Linked DNA regions of Homo sapiens: all the other regions are linked to region 1. The links are contacts of gene promoters, found by promoter capture Hi-C in human tissues and cell types (Jung and others, 2019). All regions are on one chromosome and are shown on one strand. The core of a region is centred on a gene start or on the middle of the fragment in contact, and the rest is flanking DNA. Distances in the headings are between cores, read along the strand shown. Region 1 holds the start of HAO2 (hydroxyacid oxidase 2). Region 2 overlaps WARS2 (tryptophanyl tRNA synthetase 2, mitochondrial). Region 3 overlaps LINC00622 (long intergenic non-protein coding RNA 622). Region 4 overlaps WARS2-AS1 (WARS2 antisense RNA 1).

Region 1 (3,122 bases), core at 223-2,722:
CTACTGCCAGCATCTTTTAAGTATTAACTCACTTACTTCTCATTACAGTGTGGGAGGTATTATGAGGAAACTGAGGCACAGAGAATTTAAGTAACATGTGGATGTTAGTGAGTGAGTGGCTGCAGTTTGGAGCTTGAGCACCATGTTCCAGTGTGTGCTCATCACCAGGCTTCCTTCTGGAAGGGAGAGACAGAGTCGGAGTCTGGAAAACAGCAAGGGAGGGTCTGGATCAGGGGACTGTGAGCAGGCCAGGTGTTGTGAGAGCTGACCGAGGACATGGCCTAGAGGCTGATTATGGAGATTGTGAAAATTGCTATGGAAAAGAAATTTCCAGAACCCAGATTTTGGCTACTTTTGAAAGCATTTTTGAGGTAATACTGTCCTCTAGTGGCTAGATAGCAGGTAGGGATTACCCTCCAAATAAATAGCCAATGAGCCTTGAGTGGAGATGGTATGACAAGTCAGTGGTAAATTCATCATTTTGCTCTCTAACTACAGGTTCTAAAGGAAAGGCAAACCCCACTGCTATGGTCATCGGTACAGCTCAGGATTTCGGCCTCCTCTGCTCCGTGTGTTGGCTACAGGCTAGGTTCAAATCCCAATTCTGCTCTTTACTGCTGAAAGGCTTTGGGCATGTTCGTTAATCTCATTTTCTCTTCTGAAAAAGAGACAATCTTGAAAAGATTGACCTTCCGTGAAGATCAAATGAAGTAATGCGTGTAGTGTGTCTGGCACGTCGTAAGCGCATCACACACGTGAGCTGTGGCAATACTAAGGAGCAGTGGCAAGAGCTGGGGGAGGAGTGGAGACGAACAGACCTGGACAAATTAGTGACCTTTCTGGGACCCCTACAGAACTCTTCTGGAGAAATTAATTCTATTTTTCCATGTACTTTTAAGTTTGCTTTTCCTAGCATTTCTTCTACATTCCTGAATAATTTTCCACTCAAAAATTTCACTGGTTCTCCCTGACTCCCATATTAATCTAGACATAATTACTTCCCCAGAACAGTTCTGTGGGCAGGGAGGGCTCTACACTATGCACCCTCCAAAATCCCCAAAGCTCGGACCGTCCTGGCCTGGGTCCCCACTGCTGTCCTGCCCATGGGCTCCCAGGCTGTGCTTGCTCTTCTCCCACCCCAACCCCATCACCACAAAAAGCCCCTCCTCCAACCCGGGGACTTTTGTAATTTCCTACCTGAAATCATCCACTCCCTACCTCTAACAATCTGTGATGAGCAGAGGACAACATCAAGTTTGAATTTAGAGGTAGGGAATGGGTGATTTCAGGTAGGAAATTACAACTTCACTTTGAAGTTTAATTTTGTAATAAACTTCACTTAATTTTGAAGTAAATTTGCAAAGTCAGCAAAATTCTTTCAAAGTCAACCTTGCTCTGGCCTAGTTGCTTATTTACTGCTAAGCTGGATGTTTTCATTAAAAGATTAACTTTGAGACTTCAGCCTCTTCTTTAGCCTGAACTGTGGGTAGTGATGTGGTGTGTTTCCTAACACCTCCGGCAGTGAGCCAGGCTTTGAGTGGCTGCGTCTAAACACTTCTTTCCCTGAGGACTGGAAGACATTAGAATAAGGTTTGTCATTGAGTGTGTTCTGTGTGCTTGGAACTGAGAAGGGTGATGAAGTGCCAGATAGGATGGGAATGGAAGATATCGTGGAAGCCAACTATGAGTTTGCAAGGCAAGGACCTTGGCAAAGATGGTCCTAGGGAGACAGGTGTTAGGGAACTCAGAGGGCATGGGCAAAGGAAGATTTGGTTTCAAAAAGGATACAGACAGAGAAGGTTAAGTCTAGGAAGTTGAGTCTTAGAATTGTATGGTGGAATATTCGTGGGTGTCCATAGGAGGAAAAATGGGTTAAAATGTTTTCACTTGACAGCGTTCTGAAAACCTAAAAGGTATTGCTATTGCCTTCAGGGATATATTTAGTATTCTGACCACTGCTTCCCGGCCACAAGCAAAAGAAAACAGTGACATGGCTATGCTCCTAAAAAAGTAAAGAAGTTAATGTGTCTCAAACAATGTAGTTCCTTTGAGCAATAAGCTTATTTGGAACAAATGGGTTACAAAGTCCCACTAATGAAGAGCCTCTGATTGTGTTAAGTTGAATCTACAGATCAACCTGCGGAGAACTGCCAAGAACGCTAATGAAGACAGGGAGGTACTGGTATAAAGATAGATAACAGATCAATGGAACAGAATAAAGCGTCCATTAGCAGGAAGCAAAATCCGCAAACTTTTATTCTTAACTACTACTATATTCTGCATTTTACAAGATCCTTCAATTCTCACAAGATCCCTATGAGATAGACAGTAATAACCTAATTTAAAGATAGATGAGAATTGGAGCTTGTCTAGAATAGATTGAGTGGAACATCACTTGTGGTATATCATTTGAGAGGTAATGGGAATATTGCCAAATTCCCAGGTAACTCTCCCCTCAAAGGGACTCCTGTTGTACTCTAAATCGTATCAGCTATCAAATGATGAGCTATGAAAGTCTGTCTTCTTCGACTGTAAGCTTCTTGAGAGCAGAAACTGATGTGATAAAGGTCCCCCCCCATATCTCTAGTGTTTAGCATAATACTTTGATATATTATGTTAAATCAGGCTATGTTATAGTAAAGAATAAACCTTAACAACTTAGTGAGATAACACATAAATATTTATTTCTTCCTTACACAATATCAGCTGATCTCCAGGGCTACCCTTTTCCAAATGGCGTTTTGGGAATCCAAGTGGCCTTTCTCTTACAGCTTTGCCTTCTTGAGGATGGAGGATCGCTGTAGAGGAGGAAACAAAGCTGGAGGGTCACATACCAGCTCTTCAATCCTTGGCCTAGAATTCACACCTGCTATTCCCACTCCCAGGCCATTGGCCAGAAGAACTAGTCACAGAGCCATGCCTGTATTTAAGCAACAGCGAAATGTTAAGCATGTGGGGAGCAGTATATGCCTCCGCCACCCTGGCTGAGAGTGTGTGTCAATAAACCTTCTTGGATAAACTAATGAGTAAATCTGACAGAGGGTTTAAATTATACTATGACAGAAATACTCAAATCCTGAAGCAGCTTTCCACTTCCAGAGCCTCAGATGAAATCACACATG
Region 2 (3,122 bases), core at 278-2,777, 240 kb before region 1:
AATGCAATTTAAATGGTATTCAGCTGACAGTAATCCCATCAGTGGTCATGGCTTTGTTACTCCTTTTTGAAGAGCCACCCCTCTCGTTCCCCATTCCTTCTAACTTGTGGTCAAAATGGAAACTGGCTGACTTTATATCCACATGGTTGGTAAGCATCTGACTTTCAAAAAGACAGGTGTCATGGAAGCCTGACCAAAAACCCTGCTAGTTAGATGGAAAAGAAAGACAAGAGGGCAAGCTGTGTCTCTATTTTAGTCATAGATATGTTCATATATTCTCAATCAAAATTAAGGAAATATGGTCTGCTAAAGAAGTTTTGTTCTATTTTAGAATGTTAGAAATGGTGCAGGAGATGTCATGTGGATGCTGAAACACTGAAATTTCAAAGACACTTTAAAGATTTATGGTTATAAAGTATAACTGGTTCTGGATTTTACAAGATGTCTGGCCACTGTAGTCACAGACTGCAAGAGAATGTTTGTGTCCTCCCAAAATTCATATTTTGGAACCTAATTCCCAATGTAATGGCATTAGGAGGTGCGGCTTTTGGGAGGTGATCAGTGCCCTCATAAAAGAGATCTCAGAGAATGAACTAGGAAGGAAGCCCTCACCAGACGTGGATGTGTCAGCACCTTGATCTTGGACTTCCCAGCCTCCAGAACTGTGACAAATAAATGTCTGTTGTTTATGATACCCAGTCTATGGTATATTGTTATAGCAGCTTGAATACAGTTAGACATAGATTTACCAGAAAGATGCCACAATCAAACCCGTCCTCTTGGCCAGGCAGAGTGGTTCACACCTGTAATCTCAACACTTTGGGAGGCTGAGGCAGGAACACCATTTGAGCCCAGGAGTTCGAGATCAGACTGGACAGCATAGTGAGACCTTGTGTTTAATAAAAAACAAAAAAATCAGCCAAATGTGGTGGTTTGTGCCTGTAGCCCCAGCTACGCAGGAAGCTGAGTATCACAAGGAGGATCGCTTGAGTCCAGGACATCAAGGCTGCAGTGAGCTATGACTGCACCACTGCACTCCAGCCTGGGCAACAGAGTGATACTCTATCTCAAAAAATAAAAATAAAAAAAAAATAAAATAAAATAAATCCCATTCTCTCTAACAGATATGATATAGCACAATTAAAGGTTTTATTAAACATGTAATGACAATTTGGTAAGCAAGCATTGCAATAAAGCTTTCCTGACCAACTACTATAATATCACTGGCCACTTTAAAAGAAGAAAATATAAATTCTTTGCACAACCTTGGCTATATAGATATAAAATCTGCTTGAATCACATTTCTCTGCATTTATCAAGGTGCAAAGAAAAATGAAGTTGCATTAGCTTACAAATGGCCTGTCTACATCGTGTAACGGTGCAGTGAGACCTAGGGCTGTTCTCTCCATCTATGCAGGGCATACCAAGATCTACAGAGCAAAAGTGCTAGGCATGGTTTGACAGGTTGCTTAAATGGGACTTAAGGTGGGTAAATGAGAAAAAAAAAAAGGCAATGTCAATACAATAAATGAGCTTTTTATTTCCTTTATAAGTTGAAGAAAGCATACTCTTGATTATAAAAGCAAAAACCACATCAGTTGTTGTATAGATAATATGGCACACTTATTGAACTAGACAGTCCTTTGAGACAAAACCATACTCAAAATAAAATCTTTTCATCTCAATCTTGAGTATGTCTACACTTTTCTATATACAGATGTAACAAACCTCAGTATAATATAAAGAGGTGGCAAATCCTAGTATAATTAGTGGTACCTGTGAAAAATACAATTAGGGCCAGAGTGACAATAAAAGTCAGTTAAGCGACAAGTTTGAAATTCATACCCTCTCAGAAAATTGTTGAAATAAAATTGGTATGACCTTCCAATCATTTATAAACATGTGGATACTTTGGGCAATAATAAGATCACTTATTAACTGCAACAAACATTACACAACTTTTGTAATTAAATAAATAAAAATGCACACAAAAATGTATGGTTTAAGTTCAACAATCTCCTTGATGACAATGCTATGCACTGTCTCATGTGTTGTCTCACTGATTTTTTTTCACTGAATTCATTCACTCATTAAATACTTATTGAGCTCCTTCTGTAACAGGAGTTATTATGCCAAAGATTTAAGAATTAAATCTTTATTATAATAACTCATTTTCTCACACACATAGTTATCACAGCCACGGCTCAACAGGCAAATCTTCCTGTCTTTCATGACTGGTGGTGGCCTCTAGAAACATACTGCCTGGTGAGGTCTGCCTGTTGAGTAGCAGCTTATGCTGCACCTGTGGTATGGTGCATACTAAACTGTTTTCTGCTGAGGTATTCACAAAAGGTCTAAATGAAAAAGAGCATGCTCTTCCATCTATCTTAAAGCAAATGTCTAAAAACAGAGACAGAATATAAAGGATGTATTTTTTTCTATAAGAGAGATACAATGTCCTATAAAATTTCAAAATGGAAGCAATCATTTCCAGCTTAAGAACAAAGTTTTTGGAACCGATATCTGAGGTTTTTTGGTTGTTGCTGTTTGTTTTAAAACACTTTATTGTGGTATAATTGACATTGCAAAAAGCTGTACATATTTCTGTTTTGTTTTTAAAGAATGATAGAGTACAGACAGATAAGGATAGGAAGAAAGGCCTTTCCAAGAAGAGGTAATGGCATTAATAAGGAAGTAAAAGGGAGTAGCTCCGAGGAAACTTGGAAATTTTGTGAACTCTAGGGCAAAGGATCTATGTAAGATAGCAATGGTCTAGAGAGGTATTTTGGATCCGGACTGTGCAAAGTTTTTTGTTTTTTGTTTTTTTTTTTTTTGAGACGTAGTCTCACTCGTGTCACCCAGGCTGGAGTGCAGTGGCGCGATCTCGGCTCACTGCAAGCTCCGCCTCCCGGGTTCACATCATTCTCCTGCCTCAGCCTCCCGAGTAGCTGGGACTGCAGGCGCCCGCCACCACGCCCGGCTAATTTGTTTGTTTTTAGTAGAGATGAGGTTTCACCGTGTTAGCCAGGATGGTCTTGATCTCCTGACCTCGTGATCTGCCCGCCTCGGCCTCCCAAAGTGCTGGGATTACAGGCGTGAGCCACAGCGCCGGCCCGGACTGT
Region 3 (3,122 bases), core at 465-2,964, 230 kb after region 1:
AGGACTCAAGCACAAGGGGTGTAATTATCCTAAAATAAGCCAGGAGTTTAGTAAGCTGGCCAAGAAGAGGGATTTTCCTTTTCCCAGCATGAGAGACTGTGCCTAGTACAGCTCCCTGCAAAATGGGTGGCTTTCTCCCCTAAAAAAAGGGAAACCCTTTGCATGAGCCCCAAGGACTCTAGATGCTAGGCAGGTGATTTTTCCAGACAATCTTGTGAACATCTGGAACCTAAATCTAGACTGTTTCACACCAACAGCCTGTGTGTTCCTCCACTGATAAAGCTGTATCCTTGTGCTCACATGATAAAAAATTATAACAAGGGAGACTATTGTTCCTACACTGGAATGCAGACTCCCATTGTGAGCCCAGCATTTCCTGACCATTTATGCATCAGTATTAAATAGGAGGATGGAGAAATCATGCTGTCTATTTTTTTGCTGATCAGTAATCTTTGTGAGCTTTCCTAATACCGCTTTTTTTTTTCTGAGCATAGACAGGGGACTTTATTGGTGGTACACGACAAGGTGGGGTTCCCTAGGCCCCTCCCTCTTCAGGGGGTCTGCATGGAAACTGCATGGAGGGGAGAATCTCAGTGTGGTGGGGGACTGAGTGTGGCAGGGACTCCCCAGCAGCTGAGGGCCTCTCTTTTCCTCTCATGCTCTCGCGGGGCTGGTGGCCCAGAGGTCTTACTCCTTGGAGGCTATGTGAGCCATGAGGTTCACCATCCTGTTGCTGTACCCAAATTCATTATCATATGAGAAAATGAGCTTAACAAAGTGGTCACTGAGGGCAATGCCAGTCCCAGGATTGAAGGTGGAAGAGTGGGTGTCAATGGTTAAGCTGGAGGAGGCAACCTGGTTCTCAGTGTTGCACAGGATGCCCTTATGGGGGCCTTCTGATGCTGCTTCACCACCTGCTTGATGTTATCATATTTGGCATGCTTTTCCTGAGGGCAGGTCAGGTTCATGACCAACATGTTCGTGGTGGGGACCTGGAATGCCATGCTAGTGATCTTCCCATGCAGCTCATTGATATACTTGCCCACAGCCTTGAGAGTGCCAGTAGATGCAAGGATGATGTTCCTTTGAGCCCTGCAGCTGTCATGCCACAGTTTCACAGAGGGGCCGTCCACAGTCTTCTGGGTGGCAATCATAGCATTTACTGTGGTCATGAGTCCTTCCACTAAATCGGAGTTGTCATGGATGATCTTGGCCAGAGATGCTAAGCAGTTGGTGGTACAAGAAACACTGTTGATGATCTTGAGGCTGTTGTTATATTTCTCATGGTTCATACCCATCACAAACATGGGGCTGTCAGCAGAGGGGTTAGAGATGATGATCCATTTAACTGGCCCCTACAAATGAGCCACACACTTCTCCATGGTAGTGAAGACGACACTGGAGTCTATGATGTACTTGGTGCCAGCATTGTCCTATTTGATTTTGGTGGGATTTAGCTTTTGGAAGATCGTGGTGGGATTTCCATTGATGACAAGCTTCCTGTTCTCAGCCTTTACGGTGCCATGGAATTCACCACGGGTGGAATCATACTGGAATACATAGACCATGTAGTATGGAATTTGTAGACTATGAAGGGGTCATTGATGGTGACAATATCCACTTTACCAGTTATAAGTAGCCTTGGTAACCAGGCAACCAATGGGGCCAAATCCATTGACTCTGGCCTTCACCCTTACCATGGTGTCTCAGGGATGCGGCTGGCGCTGCACAAGAAGATGCGGCTATCTGTCGAATGGGAGGAGCAGAAAGCTACAGCATATTATTTAACCCATAGTTATCATATTGAGAAATTCTTCACACACTCTGATGTCAATAGGTGGTGACTCGGGTGGGCACCACTTGACATAGCAGGCTGACATTCCCTGAGCATGTGGACAATTCAGTTGTCTCAGTGTCACTTGTTTAAAAGACAATCTTTTTCCCTATTGAATTTGCTATTGTCAAAATCAATTGGCCATATGAATTTAGGCCATTAACCCACACATAGGCAAAACTTCCCTCAAAATAAAATAAAGGCCTAAATTTAAGGGCTAAACTATACACCTCTTAGAAGAAAACATAGATTATTATATTCATGATCTTGAATTAGGCAAAAACCCAACTTTTCCTGGTTAAAAAATAGTTGAAAAATGAAACAGGATCAAAACTAAAAATGTTGGCATTTAAAAGCCACCAATAAGAAAATGAAGAGATAAACCAGAGACTGAGAAAAAAAATTCAAATCATATATTTAATACAGGACTCATATCCAGAATATGAAATACACTTACAACTACGCAACAAAAAGATAAATAACCCAATTTTAAAATAGGCAAAATATTTGAATAACCATTTCATCAAAAAGGTGTAGGAATAGACAATAAAATACATGAAAAGATGGTCAGCATCATCAGTCAGCAGGGACATGCAAATCAAAACTACAGTGAGACACCACTTCTTACCCACTAGAATGCTATAATAAAAAAGGACAGTAACACCTGGGGGAAGTGAAATAATGACGTGGAAAAACTAAAACACTCACGCATTGTTGATGGGACATGCAGTCACGTTGGAAACCAGTTTGGCAGTATCTTAAAATGTTGAAGATATATTTACCATATGACCTAGCACTATCACTTCTAGCTATCTACCCAGAAGAAAAAAACCTATGTCCACACAACACATGAATGTGAATATTCATAGCAACTTTATCCATAATTGTCCATAAAGTAGAAACACTCAAATATGTATCAACTGATAAATGAATAAACTAATGGGAGCTATCCATACAATTTAATAGGATTTGTCCCCTAACAGGATTAAAATATTGATATGTGCTGCCACATACATGAACCATAAAAGTATATTAAAGTAAATGAAAGAAGACAGATACAAAAGACCACATATTGCATGATTTCATTTATATGGTCTCCAGAAAAGGCAAATCTGTAGAGTCAGAAAGTCAATTAGAGGTTGCCTGGAGCTGGGGACTGGGAAAAAGTGGTGGTGACTGATGAACATAGGGGATTTCTTAGGAATGATAGAAATGTTGCAAAACAGGATCATGGTGATGGTCACACAAGTCTAAAATTTTACTGAAAATAATTTAACTGCACACTTAA
Region 4 (3,122 bases), core at 248-2,747, 130 kb before region 1:
TTCCAATGCACCAAATTCATTTCCAATGTGAGCTTTTAGTATGTGGAACACCTGCCAGCTGTGGAGAAATGCAAAATGCACTGAATTAGGAGTCAGAGGGCTAGGCTGCCATCTGTCACTTTTACTTATGTGCTGTGTGGGCTTGGGCAAACCATTCAACTTTTGGGGCTCAATTTTCTCATTGGTAAAACAGTGATGGTAGGAGAGAGGTCCTTGGAAAGTCTTCACTTTCTAGGATTGTGGGATTGAATCTTCTCAAGAGGTTGTGGATACTTCCTAGAGCAAAACAAGCACTCCAAACATGCTGGCTCCTTCCTTCATTTCTTCCTGCAGTACTGAGCACTGACAAGGCTACAGTAAAGCTGGCTCTGCCAAACAAGAATAGCATGATCTGCGACGTCTGCCTGCTATACCCTGGCCCAGCCACTCAGTGTTCCTGCTGCTTGGTGGGTGGAAGAAGACATGAGCCGGTGATGCTACCTGAGCAGATGGAAACCTTGTCTCTTAAGACTTTAAGCACTTGGGGAGCAACTAACTCTTTTCCATATTTGGATTTCAAAATAAAATCCCTAAACTGGATAGCAATCTAATTTAAAACTAGAATGACCAAGTGGTTCCATTGATCAGAGTCTGAGAAATAGAAAAAGCAGCTCCACCAGAAATATTTAGAAAAGGAGGCTCTGAGCTGAGGGTGGGCCTAGTTTGGGAGGCATCAGCATGAGGAACTGGAAGTGGACAAGGACAAGGACAAGGATGCCTTAACATTTCTTCATCAATGGCCAACGGCTTTGTAAGAGAGGATTCCCCACTTGGGATCAATAAGCAGTTCTCAGCTGATATTCCTTAAAGCATATGAAAGTGTGGAAGCAATCATACTGTGGGGGAGTTTCCATGAGGCTCCAAGCATGCTTAAGTGAAAGAATGAAAGCTGCCTAGAGAGCTCAAGAGAGAGGAAGAGAAACAGCTGTGAGCATCTCTGGAAGAAAGAAATGTATAATATATGCACACGGGGTGGGAAAGAGAGCAAAGGAGTGGGGAAAACAGCAGGAAACAGCATATTTCCATTCATTTCACTTTTAAAAACATAATTGTTTAAAAAAATTCAGGGACTGGTTCATACTATATGAGAATTTGCTTTTTAAAAAATGAGCAAACAAATCAGGCTTTAACTTAAAAATTACAATAATGCCACCTTTACTATTCACTATCTCATCAATGTGGGCTTGACAGTACTTACTAGAATAACAAGGTTTAATATTTTAGTAGACAGTAGAATTTAATGCTACACACACTGAATTTAACTTGCACTTAGCTTGAAATTGGATGAAATTGGACAGACTGATTCAAAGATGGAAATCAGGTCTATACTGCTTCTTCTTTAGGGTAGATTAAAGGATTGTTGGTCTATAAAGCAATCAAGATGATAGGAATATGTGTTGAAAAACTAAATTAAAAGCAAGATGGAAAAGGGGGAGGTAGCTGCCACCTAGTATGCTGTACCTCGACTTAATCTTTCTGAGTCTTGGTTTCCTCATCTGCAAAATGATTATAATACCACCCATTTCATAGGCTTGTTGTGAAGATAAGGTTACACAAGGACTTACAACAGCTCAGTAGATACTGAGTAAATAAATGGTTTACTTTCTCTGGCAGACCCCTCTGCCCAGATCCACAGTCACCAGTGTTCCTGGCAATCATTTGTTGGCTGCCATGTAGAAATAAATGACATGTCATCTAAGGCAAATAAGGTATTGTAGAAATAAATGACAAGTCATCTAAGGCAAATAAGGTATTGTAGAAATACATGACATGTCATGTATTGTCATATAAGGCAAATTGGGTATTGGTGACTGGATCTAAGTTTTCCCTTTTTCCAACCTTGAGGGATGGGAGTTAAGTTAGGAAAATGGATATTTTGTCTTTCTTTCTGTGTCAGAGACTTGTTGGTTAGGAGTAGGAGATGATGGCTATTTTGATGTCTCCGTTAATCATAGACTAGATGGTTACCAGGCAGCTGAAACATTTTCTGGCATGGTTGACTTACTGCTGCCCTATAGGGAGATAGCTTTACAGAGGTTCCCAAAGGAAACTCAACAATGTGTCCACTCCTCTTGGATATTATGCTAGGCACGTTCAAATGCAACATCTCATTTGCCCTTCAGATTTGCCATGGTAATATCTCCACTTTAAGGAAGAAAAGACTTAACTGAGAAGGATTGAATTGTTTGCCTGCATACTTATTTTTTTCAGTATCTATACTGAAACTAGAGGTAACATTGAGCCTGAGTTCCTTGTGAGCTGGTAGAAGATGAAGGAAATAAGAAAGGGTAAGGACCAAGCTTGTCAACACTGATTTCAAGTCTCCATTGCTTCTGCTGTGTACATCTCTGCAACGTTCTCAAGGCACCTCTGGAGTTGTCCAGCACACAGAGAATCTCTCCAGCCATCCACAGCACCCCTCAAAGCCTAAGCTCAGGAAGTCAGCCACAGCCCACTCTGCATGCCAGTGCAGACAGCTACCCATGGAAGGACCTGTTTCAGAACTCACTTTATTTCATCAATGAGCTTCATTTCACTGACAAGCAAACATGTCTAGGTCGGCCATGAGTGATTCTCTAGGGAGAGCTGAGTTACGGGATGATTCGCAAGTTTCTCATACATATATGATATATATGATATATGTATATATGAGATAGATATATATATATAATCTCACTTAATTCTTGCAACCACCCTATGAAGTAAACATTATTACTCTCTACAGACAAAAAAGTTCAAGGTGGTTAGGAGGTTTGCTGAAGGTCACAAGAAGTGGCAAAGCAGTAAGGCACAATGCTGTCTAATACTGAAGTCTTTCCACCTCACCGTAGGATCTCTCAAATAATTAATACTTACACTAAAATGGGGGGCATCAAACCTGGGCTCTGTGATTTAAAGTCTGCTGCTTTCCTAAATGAAATTCTTCCACTATAAAGTTAACTTTATCCCTTCATCCCCTATACCAAGATAAATTCATGGATCAGAGATTGGAAGAGTGATTGTTCCTTGTAAGGCATCTCTTAAATTTATGATCCTAGTAACTGGGGACCTCCTGCTGGATTAGCCTTGCATCTTTCCTCGCT

What was found. Contacts are between HindIII fragments. The study calls those that stand out against the background at their distance.
Region 2: a contact is called between a fragment that was not itself captured here and the fragment with the promoter of HAO2 in region 1, in 1 of the 25 tissues and cell types used here (pancreas).
Region 3: a contact is called between a fragment that was not itself captured here and the fragment with the promoter of HAO2 in region 1, in 1 of the 25 tissues and cell types used here (aorta).
Region 4: a contact is called between a fragment that was not itself captured here and the fragment with the promoter of HAO2 in region 1, in 1 of the 25 tissues and cell types used here (thymus).

Annotation. Positions count from the first base shown.
Region 1 is chr1:119,367,313-119,370,434 of GRCh38, forward strand. HAO2 (hydroxyacid oxidase 2) reads left to right here and starts at 1,473. Exons shown (of 8, transcript NM_016527.4): 1 at 1,473-1,590. It overlaps HAO2-IT1 (HAO2 intronic transcript 1), which reads left to right and starts at 1,634. Exons shown (of 2, transcript NR_046780.1): 1 at 1,634-1,696; 2 at 2,772-3,019. The HindIII fragment of the contact is 9,840 bases long and covers 1-2,297 here.
Region 2 is chr1:119,128,646-119,131,767 of GRCh38, forward strand. The region is part of intron 1 of WARS2 (tryptophanyl tRNA synthetase 2, mitochondrial); the gene reads right to left. Among named protein-coding and RNA genes, the nearest start is that of WARS2-AS1, 10 kb to the right of the region's middle. The HindIII fragment of the contact is 4,877 bases long and covers 1-3,122 here.
Region 3 is chr1:119,595,480-119,598,601 of GRCh38, forward strand. LINC00622 (long intergenic non-protein coding RNA 622) reads right to left here. Exons shown (of 1, transcript NR_036540.1): 1 at 2,223-3,122. It also overlaps the pseudogene GAPDHP33. Among named protein-coding and RNA genes, the nearest start is that of LINC00622, 2.2 kb to the right of the region's middle. The HindIII fragment of the contact is 4,404 bases long and covers 1-3,122 here.
Region 4 is chr1:119,234,382-119,237,503 of GRCh38, forward strand. The region is part of intron 4 of WARS2-AS1 (WARS2 antisense RNA 1); the gene reads left to right. Among named protein-coding and RNA genes, the nearest start is that of LINC01780, 92 kb to the right of the region's middle. The HindIII fragment of the contact is 3,453 bases long and covers 1-3,122 here.